Regions from separate parts of the Homo sapiens genome. Here regions 1, 2, 3 and 5 are each linked to region 4. The links are contacts of gene promoters, found by promoter capture Hi-C in blood cells and fetal thymus (Javierre and others, 2016). All regions are on one chromosome and are shown on one strand. The core of a region is centred on a gene start or on the middle of the fragment in contact, and the rest is flanking DNA. Distances in the headings are between cores, read along the strand shown.

Region 1 (2,818 bases), core at 20-2,519, 300 kb after region 4:
AATAATGACCCTAAAAGAGTAGAAATAATTGAAGTAAAGGATTTATGGCAAACCTTAGAAACTGAGACAGGGAACAGAGATGTGAATGCCTGGGTCAAATGGCTCAAATTTTTGGTATAAACACTGAACAAGAGCAACTGCTACACGTGTGCTGTGGGAGGACCTCAGGCACAGGTGTTTCTGTTTCCCCTAGGCTGGGTATTGATCCTGAAGGAATGTGTTGCATGTTGGCTCTAAACCAGGACAAGGATGCATGGGGAAATGAGACTCATAAGAGTCTGTCATTGATCTTTCCCACATTGTGGAGGTCAGATTCCAGAGCAATCCCCTCCTTCTCTATAGGGAATATGAACCACTCCTCTTGCCTCTTTAGGCAGGGGCAGAGTTCAATAAGCCTATGGGAGAACTCTCGACTTGTACCCACATTCTAAACATCACAGGTAAGTCAGGCAATGGCAATTACTCAGCTTTTATATACCCTGGGCTGATGTCTGATGGTATTATGGGAACAGGAACCTCGGTAACCTGTTACCATCTAATTGGACCAGGACTTGTGCTTTAGTTCAATTGGCCATTCCCTTCACCCTGGCATTCCATAAAATACCTGAAAATACACATGGCCATTGGAACAAGAGAGACTTAACAAATTCTTTTTTTCTCATAAAAATATTATATTTTTCAGAAGAAATATTACACATAATACATTGAAAATCACTGATTGTTTTTCTTCTTTTTTCTGTGAATGTGTAGGTGTTTGAGTCTCTTGTATTTCTTCTTTTATACAGGATATGGGCTGTTAGAAAACTATTTCATTATATTTATCATCATCATTCATTTCAGCCACTTCAGATTTTTGTCTCTCCAAAAATACTGGTGTACAAACTGGTGTGGGGCCCTGGCTATCCACGGTCTTCTCAGGAGTGTCAAGAGTGCCAAAAACCCTTTTCTTCTTCTTACAGAAAACCTGGCCTTTTGTAGATGTCTGATGATTAGTTTTTAAAATACTTTCTGTTTTCTGTAAAATCAAAGAAGGAAAATCATAATCAATTCCTTTTTTAGCTCATTTCTTCCTGAGTAATCTTTGTTTCTTTTTAAATCACTCCTCCATCCGTAGCTTTTGTGTTAGTGTCCGATTCTGATTATAACATTTCACTGATGATAAGATGGCTGCTTAAATGGAATATTCCAGTCTTTAAAGAGCTCTTTGTGTACTTTTTCAGGTGGCATATAATGACACTCCAAGAGTCTTTCACCAAACAGGTACTTGTTCATTGTTTCATCAACTATCTTGGCAACATCCTCAAACTCAAACTTGCAGATGCATAGCCTTTGCTATTTCCAGTCCTTTTACTTCTGAACAGTCTGAACCATGTAACAGTGCCAAACTGGGAGAAATACGAAAAGATCTGGGTTTCATTAAGTAGGTGGCACACAAAGACTACTCTAGGAGTAAGTTGTTCTTGTTCTTTTTGCTGGGTTGTGCACTTGCAAACCTCTACCACCTCCTTTTGAAACTCGACATCTTCCTGCGGGTTAAGTGACAGGATTGGCCCAGCTGGTACAGAAAAGGCTGCCATGCCAAAAGCGGCCATCACTAACTCTACGAGGCACTCCTAGAAACGTCAGGTTCTCAGCTCCCCAACAAATTTTTTTGATCGTAATATATATGTTGCCTTCATAGGAGTCCCTAGAGGGGATGCCTAATGAATTTAAGGCCTGAAACCAAATAGCTGCTGGGTTTCAGTCAGCACTCCTCTCATGATCAGCTATTAATAAAAATGTGGATTGGATTAATTCTATTTATTATTATCAACAGAAATTCATCAATTATACTCGGGACACCCGAGTTTAATTAACTAGCCAGTTACATGCCACCAGCTGAATGGCCTGGGAAAAGAGGCTTGAGCTAGACATGATACTAGCAGATAAAGGGGGCATATGTGTTATGCTGGGTGGGAAATGTTGTATTTTCATTCCCAACAATACTGCCCCAGATTGAACTATTACAAAAGCATTACAAGGACGGAAAACTCTCACCAACAAACTGGCAGAAAATGCTGGAATTGATGACCGATTTACTGGTTGGCTAGAAGGTTGGTTTGGGAAATGGAAAGGCATGGTAGCTTCAGTCCTTACATCTCTCATAATTGTAGCAAGGGCCTTAAGGGCAGTGGGATGCTATATTATCCCTTGTATACTGGAACTAGCACAAAGGTTAATTGGAACAGCTATTAACAAACAAATGCCCATGACCTACCAGCAAAATAACTTACTGTTGTTAGACACTGAACCAGACTATGAAGAAGAAAGTAAAGTAGTCCTAAAATGATTTGAGGACGAAAGGACCCAAAAATTAAAGTAAAAATAAGACCAAAAGATGAAAAGAAAGAAAGAAAGAAAGAAAGAAAGAAAGCAAGAAAGAAAAGAGAAGAGAAGAAAAGGAAAGGAAAGAAAAAAAAGGGAACTTGTAAGAAAACATTTTAATGGTCCATTTTCAAGGCATGATAGACCTAAGTACTCGCAGCCAGCCTGCGGATATGACAAACTGCACAGCTTATGCACGTAGAAAGTCATAATAAGCAAACAGAATGTAGAGGAGGGGTCAGCCCATAAAAGGGAATAAAGTTTTGCTATTGGGAAACAAAAACTTAAGCAAGGAAGGGGACCAGGGTGTGACCCTATAAGGAGATAATGAAACTTAGGTGACGTCTGGGAAGATTGTAACCCCATAGTACTCGACCAATGAGGAACTGGGGGAGGGACTTGCGTGCTAGGAAATAAATTGCCTGCTGTTACTGACCCGGGTGTGCCTGCCTAC
Region 2 (2,735 bases), core at 44-2,543, 260 kb after region 4:
TTTATTGTGGCACTATTCACAATAGCAAAGACTTGGAACCAACCCAAATGTCCATCAATGATAGACTGGATTAAGAAAATGTGGCACATATACACCATGGAATACTATGCAGCCATAAAATAAGATGAATTCATGTCCTTTGCAGGGACATGGATGAAGCTGGAAGCTATCATTCTGAGCAAACTATCGCAAGAACAGAAAACCAAACACTACATGTTCTCACTCATAGGTGGGAATTGAACAACAAGAACACTTGGACAGAGGATGGGGAGCATCACACACCGGGGCCTGTTGTGGGGTGGGGGAAGGGGGGAAGGATAGCATTAGGAGAAATACCTACTGTAAATGATGAGTTAATGGGCGCAGCACACCAACGTGGCACATATATACATATGTAACAAACCTGCGCGTTGTGCACATGCACCCTAGAACTTAAAGTATAATTTAAAAAAAAGAAAAAAAGAAATATGTCTCTTTATTAAGAAAAACATAACTTTTATCCAAGCTTATTCTTCTAGGTTAAAAAAAAGGAAACACAACTTCTGTTGGAATCAATTTAAAGAGAATATATGCATCAATGGCAGACTGGAAAAGAAAATGTGGTACATCTACACTGTGGAATACCATGCAGCCATAAAAAGGAATGAGATCATGTCCTTTGCAGGAGCATGGATGAAGCTGGAAGCCATCATCTTCAGCAAACTAACACAGGAACAGAAAACCAAATACTGCATGTTCTCACTCATAAGTGGAAGTTGAACAATGAGAACACGTGGACATAGGGAGGGAAACAACACACACCAGGGCTTGTTGAGGGTTTGTGGGTGAGGGGAGGGAACCTAGAGGATGGGTCAATAGTGCAGAAAACCACCAAGGCACACATATACCAAAGTAACCAACCTGCACATTCTGCACATGTATCTGGGAACTTAAAGTAAAATAATTTTTAGAAAAGATTGGGAGATGGGATATATGAGCTAATAATAGTAGTATATTAAGTTGGGCTCCTATCTCATGTGATAGCATTATAGCCCCAGCAAGTAATTTGTTTCCAGGTTAAATACTTTAAGTGTGTGTCAACAGTAGGTATGTTGTATCTCTGAAAAGAATGATCACCAGCTTTTTAACAATTGTAATTGTAACATTAGCATTTTATACTTTCCTTATTTCATATATAAGGCTTGTGCATGTTTTTTAGTTGTCTTAGCTGAGGGTATCTAGAAGGAACTGGAAAGAACAGATATAAATACCTGACATCTTTGGTCTCAAGATATTAGGACTGTTTATACCACCTAAAATGATAAGCATTTTCAGTGCAACCCCATCAAAATTCCAGCGACCTCCCTGCTTCTCCCATTGGACAAATATCCAATTTTCTTATGCAGCATCAGCCCTCTTCCTGAGACACCAGAGTGAAAGTGAAGGCAGGAGTAAATGGATTTGGCCATATTAGGTGCCTGTTCATGATAGCTGCTTTTAATCCTGGCAAAGTGGATACTGTTACCACCAATGGCCCTTTCATTGACCTCAACTACATGGTCTACATGTTCCATTATGATCCCACCCATGGCAAGTTCCATGGTACCATCAAGGCTGAGAATGGGAAGCTAGTCATCAATGGAAATCCCGTCACTATCTTCCAGGAGTGAGAGCTCACCAAAACCAAATGAGATAATGCTGGTGCTAATTATGTCATGGAGTCCAATGGCATCTTCACTACCTTGGCAAAGGCTGGGGCTCACCTGGAGAGGGGAACCAAAAGGTTCATCATCTCCATCCCCTCTGCAGATGTCCCCATGTTTGTGATGGGCATGAACCATAAGCATGAAAACAAACTCACAGTCATCAGCAATGCCTCCTGTACCACCAACTGCTTAGATCCCCTGGCCAAGGTCATTCATGACAACTTTGGCATCAGGGAGGGACTCATGACCACAGTCCACAGCATCATTGCCACCCAGAAGACTGTGGATGGCCCCTCCAGGAAACTCTGGCATGACAGCCATGGGGCTTTCCAGAACACCATTCCTGCATCTACTGGTGCTGCCAAGTAAATGGGCAATGAGAGGGCAAGGTCATTCCTAAGCTTAATGGGAAGCTCACTGGCATGGTCTTCTGTGTTCCCAGCACCACTGTGTCAGTTGTGGAACTGACCTCTTGTCTGGAGAAACCTGCTAGACAGGTTTCTTCAGACATCAAAAAGGTGGTGAGGCAGGCACCCAAGGACCCCTCAAGGGCATCCTGGGCTATACTGAGCACCAGGTTGTCCCTTTGGAATTTAAAAGCAATACCCGCCCTTCCACCTTTGAAGCTGGGGCTGGCATTGCCGTCAATGACCACTTTGTCAAGCTCATTTCCTGGTATGGCAATGAATTTGCCTACAGTAACAAGGTGATGGACTCATGGTACACATGGCCTCTGAGGAGTAAAATCCCCCAATCACTAACCCCAGGGAGAGCGCAGGAAGAAGAGAGGGACCCTTAGCTGCTGGGGATTCCCTGCTGCACTCAGTCCCCGACCACACAGAATCTTCTCTCCTCACAGTTTCCAGATCCTCTGAAGAAGGAGAGACCTAGGGAGCCCCACCATGTCATTTACCATCAATAAAGTCCCCTGTACTCAGCCAAAAAAAAAAAGATATTTTTCATAGAAATAGAAAAAACCATTCTAAAATTTGTGTGAAACCACAACATACTTCAAGTAATCAAAACAGTGTTGAGGAAAACAAAGTTGAA
Region 3 (2,719 bases), core at 57-2,556, 340 kb after region 4:
AGCTAATTTTTGTATTTTTAGTAGAGACCGCGTTTCACCATGTTGGCCAGGCTGGTCTCGAACTCCTGACCTCAAGTGATCTGCCCTCCTCGACCTCCCAAAGTGCTAGGATTACAGGCATGAGTCACCGCGCCCAGCCTCATTAGTAGATTTAATATTATTATAAAGGAGTTATAAATTAGAATTGCTGTTACTCAGCTTATATGAGTAATTGATGAGTAGGCTAAGAGTTTTTTGTAATTGTGTCTGATTTAGCCCTTCTCATCCTCCTACTAAAAATGATAATATAGCGGTGGTTAATATTATGTTTAGGTTTGAGAAAGAAAATGAACATTTTATCTGAGGAATGTGAGCTCCTTTAAATTATCAAGCCCAGAGGAATATTTAAAATGTGACAGCAGGCTGGACGCAGTGGCTCACGCCTGTAATCCCAGCACTTTGGGAGGCCAAGGCGGGCGGACCATGAGGTCAGGAGATCGAGACCAGCCTGGCTAACACGGTGAAACACCGTCTGTACTAAAAATACAAAAAATTAGCCGGGCGTGGTGGCGGGCGCCTGTAGTCCCAGCTACTCGGGAGACTGAGGCAGGAGAATGGCCTGAACCTGGGAGGCGGAGCTTGCAGTGAGCCGGACATTGTGCCACTGCACTCCAGCGTGGGCGACAGAGTGAGACTCTGTCTCAAAAAAAAAAAAAAAAAAAAAAAAAAACTTAAAAAAAAAATGTGACAGCAATCACATCTCACTCTCTGCTTGAGCTAATTACCTCTTAAAGCCCCTTGCAACATGGGCTCTAGACTGACACTAAGCAGCCACAAAATGCCCTGTGCTGGACACCATGTATAGCCAATCACTAACCAATATTATTTCTGTAAACCAATGAGAATTCCTATCAAACAACTTCCGCAGGCAAGTCATGCAATGTCTCTGCAGGTCTCCGAAGCTCTCATGGAGATGGTAGCTCCTCTCTGCATCTGGTCATCCAGTCCTCTATAAATCACCTGTGAATCTCATGATATTCTAATTAAGAAACAAATAATAATAGATGTTACTACTTTGTCTTTTGTTTCCCTCTATCTGTGTCTTCAGAAATTGATTCCATGTAATTATTTGTCTGAAAACAGAGAAAGCCCCTACAGGGAAAATCCAAGATGGCTTCCAGTGATTTTCATGTCCTGAGTTTCAAATCCTTGTGTATGAGTCCCCTCTTACTCTGAGTCATGGCTGGCCTGTGTAACAAATAGAATACTGCAAAAGAAATAGGGTGTGATTCCAAGATGAAGTCATCAAAGTCGTGGAAATTTCCACCTTGGTCTCTCTTCGATCACTCGCTCTGGGCCAGGTATGGTGGCTCACACCGGTAATCCCAGCACTTTGGTAGGCCGAGGCTGGTGGATCACTTGAGTCCAGGACTTTGAGACCAGCCTGGGCAACACAGCAAAACTCCATCTCTACAGGAAATTTTTCAAAAGGTAAATTAATCTGTAGGAAGCCAACTGCCATGTCCTGAGGTTATTTAAGCAACCCTGTGGAGAGGCCTGTGTGGCAAGAAACTGAAACCTTCTACCAGCCACTAGCACAAACTTGCCAGCCATCTGAGCCTGCCACCTGGGAAGCACATTCTCCAGCCTCAGTCAAGCCCTCAAATGATTGCAGCGCTGGCTGCCATCTTGACTACAACCTCGTGGGGGACCTGAGACAGGAACACACAGATAAGCTGCTTCTAAATTCCTTACCCACAGAAACTGCCAGAGGTAATACATATTTATTGTTGGTTTAAGCTACAGAGTTTTGGGGTACCTTGTGAACATTTCTAGATTCTAAATGGCATTCACTCTTTAGTGGGTCATCATTGCTTGTTCTTGAATCAGTACACACACGGAATCATCCTATTCATCTCCAAGCCACAGAAGGATGTATCAGCCCTGTAGCTAAAAGGATGTGTGGCGGAATCGTTTGGTAATGGCAGTTTTGAAGATGAAGTCTGAAAAATGTAAGATGATTTTGCCATCTTCTTGAAATCTTTAAACAGGGTGGAAGACTCTGGAATAAAAAAGGATTATATTTAATCCTTAGGATGAATATTTTAATTAATAATATTATCACCACAAACATTTAAAAATGTCAGTTGGAAGACGATTTAACTATTTCTTCTTTTTTTTTTTTCCCAGACAGGGTCTGGTTCTGGACTCACTGCATTCACCCAGGCTGGAGCGCAGTGGTGCAATCACAGCTCACTGCAGCCTCAACCTCCTAGGCTCAAACAATTCTCCCACCTCAGCCTCCCAAGTAGCTGGGACTACAGGCACGCACCACCACACCCAGCTAATTTTTTTGTGTTTTTGTTGAGATGTGGTTTCGCCATGTTGCCCAGGCTGGTCTCCAACTTCTGGGCTCAAGCCATCCACTCCCCTCTGCCTCCCAAAGTGCTAGGATTACAAGCATGAGCCACTGCACCCAGCCTGAACCACTTTCAAGAGAATCCAATGGAACACGTACATTCTCTTCAATAAGATTACACACACTAATAAGAGAAAGGAGAATATCTGAAATACAGTAGAGCCAATATGTGTTGTAGTAACAAGAACAATAATAATGATAAAGCCAGACATGATGACACACGCCTGTAGTTCTAGCTACCCAGAAGGCTGAGGTCAGAGGATTGCTTGAGGCTAGGAATTCGGAGTTTGAGGCTGTGGGTTGCTGTGATGGTGCCTGTGA
Region 4 (2,700 bases), core at 193-2,692:
TGAAGTCAGACCAGAGAGGTTCAAACCTTGCCTCTGGTTGCGTCATTGAGCTCATGGTGGCAGAGGCAAGACATGGTTTGTCTCGAGCTGAATGACCTTGGATAAGATCCTTAAGTGTACTTAAACCTCAGTGTCTTCATCTGTAAGATAGAGATAATAATAGCACCAACCTCACAAGCTTGTCATGAATATTGAATGACATCAGAAATGCAAAGTGCCTGCCTACATCAAGAACCTAAAAACTGCCTTTTATTATTGCAGATCTTCTGTGAGTCATGCTTAGTGCTAAGAACACATTACATAGCCTCAACCCATACCGGCTGGGTAGGGAGACAGGGCACATATATGAAAAACTATCATTGATAATACAAAGTAGACAACTGTCACATGAATAGCATAAATGCATGTTACGGAAAACCCAGGGAAGAAATAAACACAAAATTATTTAAAAAATTAATTAGATTACAGATGGTAGTCCAGAAAGAGCAGGCAATTTTACCAATATTAAAAGCAGTTTTTGAAAAAGAAATAAAATCCAAGTCTTCTGGTTCATATGGTAGGATTTTTTAAAATAAAACTATGCCACAATAATATTAAGGAAAATAATCTTAACAACAGCAGTGGTTGCCTGGGTGCAGTGGCTCATACCTACAATCCCAGCACTTTGGGAGGCCAAGGCAGGAAGATTACTTGAGGCTAGGAGTTGGAGGCAAGCCAGCCTGGGTGACATAGTGAGGCCATATCTCTACAAAAAAAAAAAAAAAAAAATTAGCAAGGCATGGTGGTGTGGCCCCTGTAGTCCTAGATGCTCAGGATGCTTAGTCAGGGGGATTGCTTAAGCCTAGGAGTTTGAGGCTTCAGTAAGCTGTGATTGCGCCAACCTGGGTGAAAGAGCAAGACCTTGTTTCTTAATAAACAACAAACAAACAGAAAAACAAAAAAACAACAGTAGTAATTAACACTTTGAAGTCACCTTTTACGAGCTAGGCATTTTATACACATTATCTTATTAAATCCTCACAATAACTGTAGGAGGGAGGTACTATATTTTCCCCTATTTTACAGATGAGAAAATTGAGGTGCAGGAAGATAAGTAACTTGTCCAAAGTCCTACAGCCGGAAAGTGGCTGAACCAGGACTTAAACCCAGGTTTCCAAGCAATCACAATGGGAAGTTGAAGGGGAGAGGAGAACAGGGTAAGCAGGAGCCAGGGAAATGACAGGCCAACTCTTAGTGGGGCATTCATGGCAAGTTAACGGGCCTCCTTTACTGGAAGAGGAAATTCAAGTAGAGGAGTTAGCAGACACAGAACAGTGTATAAAGCAGGCGAAAGGAGGCTCTGAATGCCAGTCCAGACAGCGAAGTTTCTATTTGTCTGTTGTTTGGTTGGGGAGAAGACAGGAACAGAAGACAGGAGTCTGACAATTCTGTAGTTAAGGGGTTTTTTTAGACTCATCTGGTCACAGACAGAATGAAGAGGAAGGGTCCAGTGGCAGGGAGACCAGTCAGTGGCTAAGGCAGCAGCTCTGAGGAAGGATGAGGTGTTTTTCAGGTGTTCCCCAACTTGCCAGGGACACACAGCCACAAATCCACCTCCCAGTCTCACCACAGAGCATCAAGAAACTGATACTCTCTATCCATCTCTCCCTACAGGCTGTAGTACTTCTGTGTCCATAGCAGTAGACAAAGTCCTTTGGGAACCATGAAGATTTTTTTCCGCTACCAGACATTTAGATTCATCTGGCTCACCAAGCCACCTGGCCGGCGCTTACACAAAGATCACCAGCTTTGGACGCCTCTGACTCTTGCTGACTTTGAAGCCATAAATCGCTGTAACAGGCCATTGCCTAAAAACTTTAACTTTGCTGCAGATGTGCTGGACCAGTGGTCCCAAAAGGAGAAGGTATATGACGATGGGCTTCCAGTAGATGCTTGGTGTCCCCTTATCTCTCAGTCTTCCATTTCCTTGTTCTGTGGTCTACCACTTAATTCCAATGCACTCTCTCACCCTCTTGGTTTCCTTTGTTTGTTTTCCAATTGCCCTCCCCTCTCCCCAGGGAAGATCTTAGATCCTCAGCCACAAATGGCTGGGCGGCTCTGGAGCCTTCTCTATCTCCCATCCCCATGGTCGTTCCTCACAGAGTTCTGCCTCTTTTCCTTCTCTTTTCTCCAAGCCCCATGCAACAGTGCTTTGTTTTCAAGTTGGTCACAGGCTTATCGAAAAAGTAGCAAATTGAGTTTTGATTTTATGAATACAGTTATCATTGGAGTAATGAGGAGAGAATTGGAGGTTGACAAGAATAAAGCAAGCGGCCCTTATGCAATGTTTACAGTGCAGCCTCAGGATGAGGTCTCTGTGTACTGATCCTCACCCCATGCCAGGCACTGAGCTAAACACTTAACCAAGCAGTGCTTATCAAAATGCACTGCAGGACCATGGATGGGAACATGATGTTAGGTACTAGACAGACAAGGTATTAAATAACATTGAATCAATTCTTCCTGTTAAATACAGGGGGAAAGCCTTCCTTGAAAGCCATTGTGTCTTTAGCACCTATCATTTGCTAAACACTCTCTTGAATAAAGACCACAGGTAGAAGCTAATCATCTCTAGATAAAATTTAATGGCATAGTTTTGTTTTCAGCATATTTATTTTTCAATAACCTATTTTTTGGCAAGTGGTAATAATTGTCCAATAA
Region 5 (2,801 bases), core at 248-2,747, 320 kb after region 4:
TTGCTGGGCTTTTGTTACATTCCAACCTGTGTATAAGAGCACTGGCTTTTAATAGTTAACCACTCTGAAACAGTTGTTATGGAGGCCTGCATTAGTGAGACCTGGCCTGCCACAAAGCCATCTTGGTAGGGAGGGCTGCAGGTGCTGACTGAGTATTTCAATAATAAATTTTTCTTTTTTTTTTCTTCTTTTGAGACGGAGTCTCCCTCTGTCACCCAGGCTGGAGTGCAATGGCATGATCTCGGCTCACTGCAACCTCCGCCTCCCAGGTTCAAGCGATTCTCCTGCCTCAGCCTCCTAAGTGGCTGGGAGTACAGGCGCACACCACCAGACCTGGCTAATCTTTTGGTATTTTAGTAGAGACAGTGTTTTGCCATGTTGGCCAGGCTGGTCTCGAACTCCTGACCTCAGGTGATCCATCCACCTCAGCCTCCCAGAGTGCTGGGATTACAGGCATGCCTAGCCATAAATTGTTCTGATGATGTATTTCTGGTTTATGGAAAGGAAAAAAAAATTACAGGAGCCACAGAGATCACAGTAAGTATGATGGCGGGGGGAAAGAGCTACTCTTCGCACCATCAGAAGTATAATTCAAGGCAATAACTGTCTCATTTTCTGCCCTCAGAGCTGTGTTTGCTACTTAAAATATCTGTGAACCAATGAAAATTTCAAATGAGCAGCAGGATGTAAAGCAAATGAGAAATTTAAGCTGTGCTCCCAGAAGGCAATTATTATTAAATATATGTACCACAGCATTATCATCATCATACACATGAAATCAATTATCACCCTAAGCAACCACAATTTCAGTTACCTTATTTTCCTTAGGAAGTCTACCATCACTTACCAGATTTTTACCTAAATGAATTATTATTCATGTCAAAGAACAATAGTTTATTATACCAACATTTGTAGCTATCATAGCTTTACTTAGTTTATATTTTTATGTCTGACTGATTTACTCTACACCACTTAAAATATTGCCAACAACCAACAACATAAAAACAAAATGCCAGGTGAAGAATACAAACAAAATAGCCTTTCTATCTCCACTTAGGATATTATCAATCTTTTCTTTCCCCCTTGCACGAATATTTTTAGCATTGGATCAGGAATTTAGGTTAGCCAGAACAACAACCCTCAAAGTCTTAAGCAAGTATATCATACTTAATTCCTGAAAAATAAGGACTGTAAAACTTTATCCCACATTAATTGAATGAAAATTAAACACTTTTATTAAGCTAAAACCTCATTAGACTAGTAGGCTCCAGCCCCATGGTACCACTCTGCATTTAAACAATAAGAAATTTTTAGTTATTCCTCCTCCTTGCCAGTATGTGGTATTGTAAAGTCTTTTTATTTTAGCTATTCTAATCATTGTGTATTGGTATTTGGTTGTGGTTTTAATTTGCATTTCTCTAATGACTAGTGATGTTAATTTCAGGTGCCTATTTTCTATCTGAGTATCTTCCCTGGGGAAGTATCTGTTCAAATCTTTTTGCCTATTGTTTACTCTTTAAAATTGAGTTATGAGAGTTCTTTATGTATTCTAGATACAAACTTATTAACTATATGATGTGCAATTATTTTCTTCCAGACTATGGCTAGCCTTCCAATCTTTTAATGGTCTTTTGAAGAAGTAAAGTTTTTAATTTTCATAATATCTACCTTATTAGTTTGTCCTTTGGTGTTGGTCTTATGTCCAAGAACTCTTTGCTTACCCAAGGTGACAAAGATTTTTCTTTTAAATTTTCTTCTTCCTAGTGTTGGTGATGAGAAATTGGAAGTCAATATAATTGTATTTCCTTTGAGTATTATGTGTTTTTCCACTCTGAAGTTTAGATGAAGATTTATGTTTTAGCTAAATCCTGAAAATTTCTCATTTATTGTTGTTATAATTATTATTGATTGTACTCTACTCCATTTAATATTTCTATAACTTGGATGCATATTGAAATTTCTGTATATGTATCCTCCGTATCTCTTTTATATTCTTTGTCATTATTCCCCTTTTACTGTATTTTGGGAGAATTACTTATTTAGGTCTCTCGGGTCAAAATTTTTCTGGCATTATCCATTCTGTTCTTCACCTACTATCTTAAGGATTTTCTTTCTATTTTCATAGGGCAAACTTTTATTTTTATAATCTATGGCTTTTAAAATTAATAAAATATCGTTTAGTCTCTCTTTGAATATATTACTTATACTTCTTTTCTATATCTTCTCTGTTTTTTAAAACATGTTTCCTTGAGTGTAAAGTATTTCATTTGTTGTACTTACTGTTTTCATGGTCTTGCAAACCAAAAATGAAGATTTCTTCCTTCTCAGGGGAATCAAGGAAGAAGCCTCTCACTCAATTATGAGCCCCCAAAGCTGAAATTCTATTTAAGCCATTCCCTGAATTTTCTACATGAGAAAACAAATTATTTTCATGTGCCATATCACTACCAAAAATAAATATTAAATACAGTTCCATTATGTACATGGTGTGTTAGTGCTCTTCAACATTTAATAATCTACTACTACTGTACATAATCATATGAATGCATATATGTAATTGTACGTGGAAGAATATACCCCATGCATGTCAAGTGCAAGTGCCTGGGCCAGGCAATTTCCAAAGCACCTCTTCAGGTAGTCAGTTTCCATCCTGGGCCCAAGTTCAATTTCCAGGTTTTTTTTGTTATGGTTTGGTTTTTGGGTTTTTTATGTTGCAGCTGTTTGTTTTGAGACAGGGTCTCACCATCCTGGCTGGAGTGTAGTGGCGCGATTTTGTGTTGTTGTTGTTTTTAGATGGAGTC

The links. The method cuts DNA at HindIII sites, captures the fragments that hold promoters and counts their contacts. A CHiCAGO score of 5 or more calls a contact.
Region 1: a fragment that was not itself captured here is called in contact with the fragment with the promoter of ACSM4 in region 4 in 1 of 17 cell types (M2 macrophages); the score reaches 5.7 in M2 macrophages.
Region 2: a contact is called between a fragment that was not itself captured here and the fragment with the promoter of ACSM4 in region 4, in 3 of 17 cell types (naive CD4 T cells, total B cells and endothelial precursors). The highest score is 6.0, in naive CD4 T cells.
Region 3: a contact is called between a fragment that was not itself captured here and the fragment with the promoter of ACSM4 in region 4, in 1 of 17 cell types (M0 macrophages). The highest score is 5.3, in M0 macrophages.
Region 5: a fragment that was not itself captured here is called in contact with the fragment with the promoter of ACSM4 in region 4 in 4 of 17 cell types (M2 macrophages, M1 macrophages, neutrophils and 1 more); the score reaches 9.6 in M2 macrophages.

The regions. Positions count from the first base shown.
Region 1 is chr12:7,603,634-7,606,451 of GRCh38, forward strand. It overlaps the pseudogene NIFKP3. Among named protein-coding and RNA genes, the nearest start is that of APOBEC1, 61 kb to the right of the region's middle. The HindIII fragment of the contact is 8,497 bases long and covers 1-2,818 here.
Region 2 is chr12:7,564,954-7,567,688 of GRCh38, forward strand. It overlaps the pseudogene GAPDHP31. Among named protein-coding and RNA genes, the nearest start is that of CD163, 63 kb to the left of the region's middle. The HindIII fragment of the contact is 1,581 bases long and covers 504-2,084 here.
Region 3 is chr12:7,647,656-7,650,374 of GRCh38, forward strand. It overlaps APOBEC1 (apolipoprotein B mRNA editing enzyme catalytic subunit 1), which reads right to left. Exons shown (of 5, transcript NM_001644.5): 5 at 1,745-2,041. The coding sequence ends at 1,892. Among named protein-coding and RNA genes, the nearest start is that of APOBEC1, 17 kb to the right of the region's middle. The HindIII fragment of the contact is 3,723 bases long and covers 1-2,719 here.
Region 4 is chr12:7,302,630-7,305,329 of GRCh38, forward strand. ACSM4 (acyl-CoA synthetase medium chain family member 4) reads left to right here and starts at 1,443. Exons shown (of 13, transcript NM_001080454.2): 1 at 1,443-1,903. The coding sequence starts at 1,703. The HindIII fragment of the contact is 4,163 bases long and covers 177-2,700 here.
Region 5 is chr12:7,625,375-7,628,175 of GRCh38, forward strand. No RefSeq gene overlaps it. Among named protein-coding and RNA genes, the nearest start is that of APOBEC1, 39 kb to the right of the region's middle. The HindIII fragment of the contact is 7,553 bases long and covers 1-2,801 here.